Linked DNA regions of Homo sapiens: regions 1 and 2 are each linked to region 3. The links are contacts of gene promoters, found by promoter capture Hi-C in blood cells and fetal thymus (Javierre and others, 2016). All regions are on one chromosome and are shown on one strand. Each heading gives the region's core, a stretch centred on a gene start or on the middle of the fragment in contact. The rest is flanking DNA. Distances are from core to core; before and after follow the strand shown. Region 1 overlaps SYNPR (synaptoporin). Region 2 overlaps LOC105377123 (a long non-coding RNA gene). Region 3 holds the start of THOC7-AS1 (THOC7 antisense RNA 1).

Region 1 (3,422 bases), core at 127-2,626, 540 kb before region 3:
TGATTCTGTGACTTAGGTGGTCCTGTCCCCATTCTACAAACAAAAAACTAAAGCACAAAGACACAAAGTCACTTGTTCACAATCATTCGACCTTCCAGTTTTGGAGCTTAGGTCTGTGTGGGGCCAAAGACATTCAGTCCTCTGCCTTTGAGAACCTCATCATTGAGGCAAATGTAAACATATACAAAGGAATTTGTAAGTTCTTATGTAAGACCCACTCACTCATTGAGAGTAAAATTTTATGGAAGAGACTACAAAATCAAGAATGCAGCAGCCTCTAAGGGCTCTCTGTGCTATAGGGCATTTCTCCTGCTTAGACATTTTCTTAAGGGACAGGGAGAGGCTTTTTATTGAGGGTTGCCCAGTGAGAGCTTCTTCCAGTAGGCACAGCCATGATAAGAGTAGAAGATAAGACTTTAAGCTCCCAAGAGGCCTCTTTTTCAAGATTCAGAAAAGGCACAAAGCAGGACTAGTTTAAGCACATCAGTAAAATTGAAAATAGCAGGGCTCAAGCTGCAGAGTGACTGTGGAGTTTGCTGGGGAAGAGCTTTTGATGTTTGTTTCTTGCCCAACTGAGCGCTTTTGAGTCAACAATCCTTTCTCATAAGGGCATAATACTCAAAACTGGCCCCAGAGGAAATAAGAAAGAGCCAAAGGTAATGCTATGGACTGATCCACTTTCCAATGGAAAGCCAACCTTCTTTCTTTCCACTTCACAGCTTTAATTCCTAAATTTCTGGGCCTTATGGCAAAAAGGGAGAGGGAAAACTGGATGAAATTTATTCAATTCTACAGGCATTTATTGAGTTTCTACTATGGAGTTAATATGAAGATTAAATCCTTGAACTTCATTACTTAGTTGATAAGATAAAACATACACAGGCCAGAAAATCTCAGGTGTGTTGGAAAGTACTTCTTTATACTCCCCAAATAATTTTTTTTTGGCATTGTTTTTTGCTGAGACATGATGGAAGACTTTTGGAGAAGGAAACACTTGAGCATTTGATCAGAGTTCAAAGACTGTAGGACCTGGAGAATTACAAATAAAAGAGTAAGGTTTATAGGGTGGTTCTAGAATAGACAAAGAAAAGAAAAACAAAAGCAAAAATGCAAATAAAATTTAAAATGTACATTCAAAGAGAGTATATTAAAATAAGGTGATAATAGGACAGGAAATTATATTTACTTTTCCTTAGCACTTTGTTCCAAGAATTGTTGTTTTTCACATGCATTCTCTCATTTAATACTCACAACATTCCCATGAGGCAGTTATTATTATTTCCATTTTACTGAGAAGGACAGTGAAGCCCAGCATGATGAATAACTTGCCCAACTTGCACAATAAGTAGCAGAGTCAGCATTTAAACTCAGTCTTATTACAAAGTCCTAATGTTTAGCCACCTATAGTATACTGCTTCAATAAGCATGGCAGCTGGAATATTGGCCAATAATGAAAAATGATGCTGAAAATTTAATTGCAATTATTGTAACTGTCACTTGTGTCTAATGAGTATTTTCAGTGCAAAGGTACTAGGCAAATTATTTTTATTTAACTCAATCCCTACAACAGTTGTGTAAGTATTATTAATCTCATTTTAAGATGAGTGAACTGAAAGAGTGGCCACCTTGATGAAAAGATATTAAGAAAGCAGAGAACCTGAGCTTTGAACTAGTATCAGTGACCTCAACCTGAACTCTTAACCATTACAATGTATGGCTTCTCAAGACTGGGATCAGACAATAAAGAGCCTTGAAGGCTAAGCCAGGAAATTTGCATTTATCCTGTAGCCAACGGGGAAACACTGAAAGTTTGTGAGCTGGGAGGTGACATGGCTTGATTTGGGCTTTTGGAGGATTAATCTGGAATCAGCATAAGATAGATTATAGAATGGAAAATCAGAACAGAGGGACCAATTATGGGACTACTGCACCAGTCCATGTAAGACGACTTATCCAGTGAGATGTGTGGTCCAGGTGAGTGGTCTTGAAAGCCCAATATAGACTACTAAGAGGAGAGAAAGGAAATATATAGTATTGGGTTTATAAATTACAAGAGTCCTCTTTGGTGCTTTGAAATCTGGATCTCCTACTAGAAAGGGAAGCTGCCTGCAGTGGAATCTGCTCACCAGGCAGCAAGTTGAGCTAGCTATTTAGTATGGAGAGGACCTGGAGCTGTGATTACCAGACACTGGGTTGCAGCTGCAGCCACCCAGAATTAGCCTGGCCAGATGGTGACGGGTAACTGACTGTTCTACACGGACCTCAGGAGAGAGCACAACAAATACCACAAGCAAGAGGCACATGTTTTCCTATGAACATATCAGAAAATTTTCTTTGAGAGTTTCTGATTCTCTCAAGGCATTTTTCCCTCATAATGCCTCAGTTACACTAACTCAGGTTGAGAATGGTGAAGAATGCTTTATGAAAATCAGAGTTGTTTTTTAATGAGGCCATCTGGTGAGCCTTCTGCATTTATATCCTCTTCTCCCAACAGGTTAGAAGCTGAAAAATTCTCTGCTAGTATAGTATTAGTAGAAATTATTTATAGTATGGCAGAACAGCCACTGTAATTACAACTTAATTCTTAGGTGACAAGAGACAGAACGTTAATTAGATCTTGCAGATAATAGTAATGACCATTCACATGTACCAAGCATTTGCTCACATGTAATAGGTATGAATTCTTAGCATCACTCACTTGGGGTACACAAGAAACATAATTTTCATTAGTTTCTTTAATAAAATAATTTGAACCTACAACCTACCTAGTGGTCAGAACATCATCTACACACTCTCAGGAAAGGTCCGATGCAGCATGTGTTAGTCACTCAGGTACAAAATGTAATCATATTCACCTTCTCCAATTTATTCCCCCTTTCTACCCAGGAAAGATCCTAAGCCCAGGATCTTACTGAGGTGCCAACCTGGTGACAGTAGGGAGTGGCTAGCTGGTTCTCCATCTGGACCTGGCAGGGCCCCTGCTGGCCTCCTACACTCAGTGTAAATTCATTTAGTCAGATTTCAACACACTCCAAATGGAGACTGAGCAAATTCCCAGTTTGGATTTGTCCCCATTTGACTCCTGGCTTAGGTAACCTTGGAAAGTAATGTCTGTCCTCCCATCATTCTCGGTGGAAACTGTCCATCCACACAGCTGACATCTGACACAGAGCTCCTTGTCCCCACAACTGGACCCTGTGCAAGCCCATGCATCTTTCCTTCTCAACTAGCTTTCACTTCCTGCTGAAGATAGGGAAGCTTTGGGTACCTCATCTCCACAACACTCTGGGGCTCTAGGAGACGTGGGCTATAAAAGTGGATTCATTCTGTCTCCACATCCCTGCATGTCCAAGATAGAACCAGAAGATGAGAAATTGTCATTTTTATTCATTGGTCCATTTCTGAAGAACCCCAGTCCCAGA
Region 2 (3,105 bases), core at 47-2,546, 620 kb after region 3:
TTCAGATAGAAGCAAATGGCAGTGTCAGCCAATGCAGACCTACCTCTGGAGAAAATGTTTGCCACTAGCTTTTATAAACTGCAAGATTCAACTATGGAACATGCAAGAATTGCCAACTGACCATCACTTAAAAACAAAATCTGGATAGATAAAATTTTGGAAGTGAGAAATGCATGATATAGTGCTGCTTCCTGGGGGGCCAGTTGTTTTGTTATTTATACTTTGAACCTTTAAAATCTTTTGGCGCAGCATGCTGGCTCATGTCTGTAATCCCAGCACTTTGGGAGGCCAAGACAAGCAAGTAACTTGGTCCCAGAAGCTTGAGACCCACCTGGGCAACATGTGAAACCTTGTCTCTACAGAAAAAACACAAAAATAGTCTGGGTGTGGTGGTACATGCCTATAGTCCCAGCTACTTGGGAGGATGAGGTGGAGGATCATCTGAGCTCCAGAAAGTTGAGGCTGCAGTGAGCTGAGATCTCACCATTGCACTCCAGCCTCGGCAACAGAGTGAGACCCTGTCTCAAAAAACAAACACACAAAACAAAAGAGAGAGAGAGAGAGAGAGAATAAACTTTCTAAGCAGTTGTCTGATTTGTGAAATTGCAAAAAAAAATTTGAAGAGGGGGCACAGAAAAGGAGGAAGTGTTCTTTAGTCAGTGAATAGATGAAAGGAATTTGTATTGAACACACACGTTATTCACTTGAACACATTTGTTCTCTGTCCCCATCGAATACAGGCTGAAGAAATATTTAGAGAATTCTGGCTTGAAAGGGTAAAAAACTAACAACCTGCCCCAGTCAGTCCCCCATGGTTACTGAACTCTGGAAGATTTTGCTGGAGAAGTCTGAGAGTCCAGTTCTACAATTTTACACAATTTGTTAAATGTAAAACATTGCTTTGGCTTCACTTACTGATTTTCCTTTCTCTCCCATTTCTGACTAACTCAAATTTACTGGGTGCCTGCTATATGCCAGGATCCAAATGTTGAACATAACTTATTTTGTTTCATACCCAAGGGGCTGTAAAGGACACACAGACTGTGAGCGCAGACACATTTTAGACTTGCACTGTCCAATACGGTAGCCACTGGCCACATATGGTTATTGAAATTTACATTTATTGTAATTAAGTAAAATTTAAAATTCAATCTCTCAGTTGCACTAGCTATGTATTAAGCACTCAATAGCCACATGTGGTTATGACTATGCTGCTGGACAGCACAGTTATAGAGCATTTCTATCACTGCAGAGAGCACCATTGGATAGCACAGTTTTAGACCTTTCAGAGTTGTCTCTACCTCCTGTGAAATCATTTTAAGCAGAAAAGCTGCCATTCATTGAGCACTCCTCTGGGCCAAGCAAGCAAGATTCTGGGTCAGTTACATAAGATCATCTCACCACAGCTCACTGCCTCACGTCTCAACGCATTTTAATTTTTTTTTTTTTTTTTTTGTAGCGCCGTGGTCTCACTTTGTTGCCCAGGCTAGTATCGAACTCCGGGCTTCGAGCAGTCCTTCTGCCTCAGCCTCCCAAAGTGCTGGGATTACAAGAGTGAGCCATTGGGCCCAGCCTCACCCCATTTTAGAGATGAGGAAACCTGAGGATAGAGAGGCCAAGTAGCTTTCTTACCATCGCACAGCAAGTGAGCGGCAAAGCCCAGGGCGTTTGACTTTAAAGGCTTTGATAATTCTGATGGCCCCACCTTCCAAGGGCATTACCCCCAAGTGTGAGTGAGAGCACCACTGTGGACAAGAAAGAGCCGCTGGGGATCCTGGCCCTTTTGACAGGAAAAGTGGCCATGGGGTCAGACAGGCTAGAGGACCAAGGCTGGTTCTGCCAATGACCATGTCAGTGACATTGCCCAAGCCACTTAGATCTCTGAATATATGTACAGTGGTGGAGCTCACCTTGTAGAGCTATGAGGATTAAATGAGAATATACACATAAGCACTTGGCACAGTATCTGGCACACAGTAGCCATTTAGTACATGGCACACATGAGTATTACTTCCGGAGTGAATCCTTTTCTTCTGTTTAAGCAGCAAACAGCAAGAGTTGCCTTGCTCCCTGCAATACACATTTCTGAGTCTGGCATGCCACCTGCTGGTCACTCCTGGATATACCATCCAGTCCCCTGTTCTCCCCAGAAGGGCCAGTGCCCAGAGTGTTCCCAGGAGACTGGGCTGTAAAACAGGAACATCCTAGCTGAGTATTCAGATTTTTTTTTCGTAAAGTCCCTTTCACATTGTGGCTCCTCTGAGAACTTAGGATAAGCTTAGATCTTGCTAAGTTTGCTGAAATCTTCTTTGTTGCCAGGCAGATAGAGAAGATGGACTTCTTTGGGGCCCTGTGCTCAACGTTAGGCTATGTTGCCAGGGTCTTCTAGCTGCAGGCTATCTAAAAGCACAGGGTCTTTACTATTATGGCTGGCATTCCCTTCGATCTGATGCTGAATATAAGTCCCACCTCTCCACCCCATATCCTATCAATCTAAAAGTCCTGTTGGGTTTTTCTCTGTGAAATATATTTAAAATCTGTCTAAGCCCCTTCATATTCTCTGCCACCATCATCCCTCACCTGGACCACTGCATTAGCCTCCTGATCTTCTTGCATCTCCTCCCTTCCCCCTGTTGTCTATTCTTCACGCAGCAGCTAGAGCTGTGGTCCTACCTGCTGTAGCTATGGAATGCCTTGGGGAACATTCAAGACCTACCAACACCCAGGGGCCAAACCCTGACTAATTAAATCAGAATCTAGGGGTAGTGGGTAGAAGGTCTCTCAACATTCGTAGCTCATGAAAGCTCCTGGATGATTCTTTTTATTTTTATTTTTCGAGACAGAGTCTTGCTCTGTCACCCAGGCTGGAGTGTAGTGGTGCCATCTCGGCTCACTGCAACCTCAACCTCCCAGGTTCTAGCGATTCTCTGGCCTCAGCCTCCCAAGTAGCTGGGACTATGTGTGTGCCACCACACCCAGCTAATTTTTTGTATTTTTAGTAGAGATGGGGTTTCACCATGTTGCTCAGGCTGGTCTCAAACTCCTGACCTCAAGCGATCTACCTGCTTTGGCCTCCCAAAGTTAGATGATTCTTTTGTGCATCCA
Region 3 (3,098 bases), core at 530-3,029:
TCTAGTAGCTATAGCTACTCTAAAGCAGGGCAGTTCCTCAAACTGAGTGCAGGAAATAAAGGGCTGCTTCTTCAAGAGCTCCCAGTCCAACTGGATACGCAGACCCAGAGGAATGGATTACATGAAGGGACAGTGATACAGGCACATCAAATTTGTAAAAGACATTGGCTCTTATGTAAGCTCCATGGACAGGTACTGGTACTCCTCCAAGAGCTTTCCAGGAGGATGAATGAGATATCAAGAGCATCCACTTCTATCTTCCACACTAACATCGCTCTAATCCAAGCCCACATTTCTCTCATCTGGAATATTTTGCATTGGACTCCCTGTTTCCATTCTTGCCTTCCTAGAATCCATTTTTTATGCAACTCAGAATGATCTAAAAGATGAATTGGATCACTAACTCTCCTGCTTACAATCCTCCTATCATTTCTAAATGCCCACAAAGGACAATTCAGTCTCCTTTCCAAAGCCTGCAAGGCTCCTCCTGAGCTCCCTTTTACCTCCTTTTGCATCGTACTCCTCTTGGCCCACCTGGATGCAGTCCTGTCCCTAGATCCAGCCCAGTGGCTTTCCTTATTTCCTCTAAAGGGTGCAGAGCTTGTTTTCACCTCGGGCCTTTGCACTAGTTGTTGTCTCTATCTGGAATACTTTCCTGGGCTCTTCATGTGGTTGAACCTGTCAGGTATCACTGCCCTCCCCCATTACTCTCTGTCCTCATTCCATCAAGTTCATTCTCAGAACTTAATTACATTCCTTTTCAGAAATTATCTTATTTACTTATTTGATTGCACACTATGGCTTCTTTCCCCAAAGCAGGGGCCAGGGCCCTCCTCTGTCTAGTTCACTGCAAAGTAGCCAGGACCTCGCATTGTGCCTAGAAGGTATGCAATAAATACTTGTTGACGGATCACACATACCACTCATTTCAGCTTGATTTTTTCAAAAGCTCAGCTGACAAAAACCATGTTTATAGAGGATTGTCTGAAGAAGTTGTAGTTTGTCTTTCCTCTATGGTCTAGATATTCAATCAAAAAACCCTGATTTGAATCAAGCCAGATCAGCAGAGCTACCCACTACCCACCTAAACCACATTGTCCATTGATTTTATTTATTTATTTTTAGACAGGGTCTAGCACTGTTGACAGGCTGGAGTGCAGTGGTGCAATCATGGCTCGTTGCAACCTCAAACTCCTGGGCTCAAGTGATCCTCCTGCCTCAGCCTCCTGAGTAGCTGGGACTACCTACAGGTGTGTTCCACTCCACCTGGCTAATTTAAGAAAATTTTTAGTAGAGATGAGTAGCTGAGACTACAGGTGCACACCACCACACACGCCTGGCTAATTTGAAAAATTCTGTAGTATAGATCATGTCTTGCTGTGTTGCTTAGGATGGTCGCAAACTCCTGGGCTCACGTGATCCTCCTGCCTTAGCATCCCAAAGTGCTAAGATTGATTACAGGTGTGAGCTACCACACCCAGCCTCTACTGGCTTTAGAATGTCTTTCTAAATTGTGATTTAGCCTTCTTTTACCTAGCAAGGGATGTGCTACAAAACAGCTCTATGATCTTCAGTGCTGAAAAGAGGTTAAGGATATGACACTGGCTTTCATTTATAAAGACCTCAATGATAAACTTTTCCTCTAGTTCAAATCAGAAAAAAAAAGTGCTTTTCCTGGGCATCTAAGATTGCCTTCTCTCATGAACACTAGATCACAGAGCAGACGAGGTCCTGCCTCTCAGAATGGCCTACTGGAGAAACAGGTCACTTACAGCTTGGTTAATTAATGTACTAGACTTTATCCTCCTGCATTTTGAGGATCACCCCACTTCTGACTTCCCTTTATTTTTCCTAATCTCAATGTTCTTTTTGTCTTGTTTTCTAATCCGTTTAATTTTTATATTTTCTCATTACAGTGAACTGCCTTAAATGTTTTCTAGCATAAGGCATATAAATAACGTATTAAGGGTGACAGCAGCAATATGCATAAAATAATATGGCTAGTAGGCAGAAGGTCAACTACTTCTAGGAAAGAAAAGAGGGGATTTTTGAGGTGGGTCTTGAGGAATAAGTGGAGTGTCACCTGATAGAAAAGGCAGGAAAAGGCAACCTGTGCAGATTAAGAGAGAAGGCAAAGTCCACATCAAAGGAAAGTGGAAGACAGATTAGTAAAACAACTCTGACATTAATATTTACTGAATATTAATTATTATGTGTTGGACTCAATGCAAAGCCCTTTACAACTTTTTGTGTTTAATCCTCAAAACAATCCGCTGATGTGGATTTTATTATTATCTCCGTTCAGAGACTGAAGCTGAGACAGTCTGTAAGTGGCAGGGTAGAGATTCCTGTGGCTTTTAAGGATGTGGGGGGGCACTTGACTGCAGTCATTACTTTAGAACTCATCTTCTGTCCCTATCTCCCATCTGACAAAGCCTGTTGCTCCTTTGGACATCTCAATCTCAATAAATAGAAAAGTAGCACTAACAGGCACACAGTGAAGTCAAAAACCTGGGATCATCCTAAATCCCTTCTCCCACCATCCATTCAATACCTGAAGTCCTGACATTCTACCTCACAAATTTCCCTATTTCCCTCCCACCTGTCCTCTTTGCATTCCCTCTTGGTCACAGTCCTCATTGTCTCTCACCAGGGCCACTGCAGAAGTAGCAGACACAGGACGCATAATAGTGAAGAGCAGGAACTCGGCAGGTGGTCTCCCTGCCTTTGACCCTCTATAACTACTATCTGTGCGACCTTAGGCAAGCTAACCTGTGTCTGTTTCATCTGTAAAATGGGGATAACAATTAGAATAATACCTAACAGCACTACGTAAACGTTAGTAAGTGGCGAGGAAACTTAGCTCCTCATTTTCTCTTCCTCTAATCATTCTGCACATAACAGAGACAGTGTGTATGTGTGTGTGTGTTTTTTTTTTTTTTAATGAGACACGGTCTCACTCTGTCACCCAGACTGGAGTGCACTGGCGCGATCTTGGCTCACTGCAGCCTCAACCTCCCAGGCTCAAGTGATCCTTTCTCCTCAGACTCCCAAGTCCTGGGACTACAGGTGTGTGCCACTGTGCCAGACCAATTTTT

What was found. The method cuts DNA at HindIII sites, captures the fragments that hold promoters and counts their contacts. A CHiCAGO score of 5 or more calls a contact.
Region 1: a fragment that was not itself captured here is called in contact with the fragment with the promoter of THOC7-AS1 in region 3 in 1 of 17 cell types (monocytes); the score reaches 5.4 in monocytes.
Region 2: a fragment that was not itself captured here is called in contact with the fragment with the promoter of THOC7-AS1 in region 3 in 6 of 17 cell types (naive B cells, total CD8 T cells, non-activated CD4 T cells and 3 more); the score reaches 7.1 in naive B cells.

The regions. Positions count from the first base shown.
Region 1 is chr3:63,322,614-63,326,035 of GRCh38, forward strand. All of the region lies in intron 2 of SYNPR (synaptoporin), which reads left to right. Among named protein-coding and RNA genes, the nearest start is that of SYNPR, 46 kb to the left of the region's middle. The HindIII fragment of the contact is 3,760 bases long and covers 1-3,256 here.
Region 2 is chr3:64,482,491-64,485,595 of GRCh38, forward strand. All of the region lies in intron 3 of LOC105377123 (a long non-coding RNA gene), which reads right to left. Among named protein-coding and RNA genes, the nearest start is that of PRICKLE2-DT, 39 kb to the left of the region's middle. The HindIII fragment of the contact is 1,958 bases long and covers 318-2,275 here.
Region 3 is chr3:63,858,866-63,861,963 of GRCh38, forward strand. THOC7-AS1 (THOC7 antisense RNA 1) reads left to right here and starts at 1,780. Exons shown (of 2, transcript NR_104326.1): 1 at 1,780-2,131; 2 at 2,634-2,954. The region is part of intron 1 of THOC7 (THO complex subunit 7); the gene reads right to left. The HindIII fragment of the contact is 14,056 bases long and covers 1-3,098 here.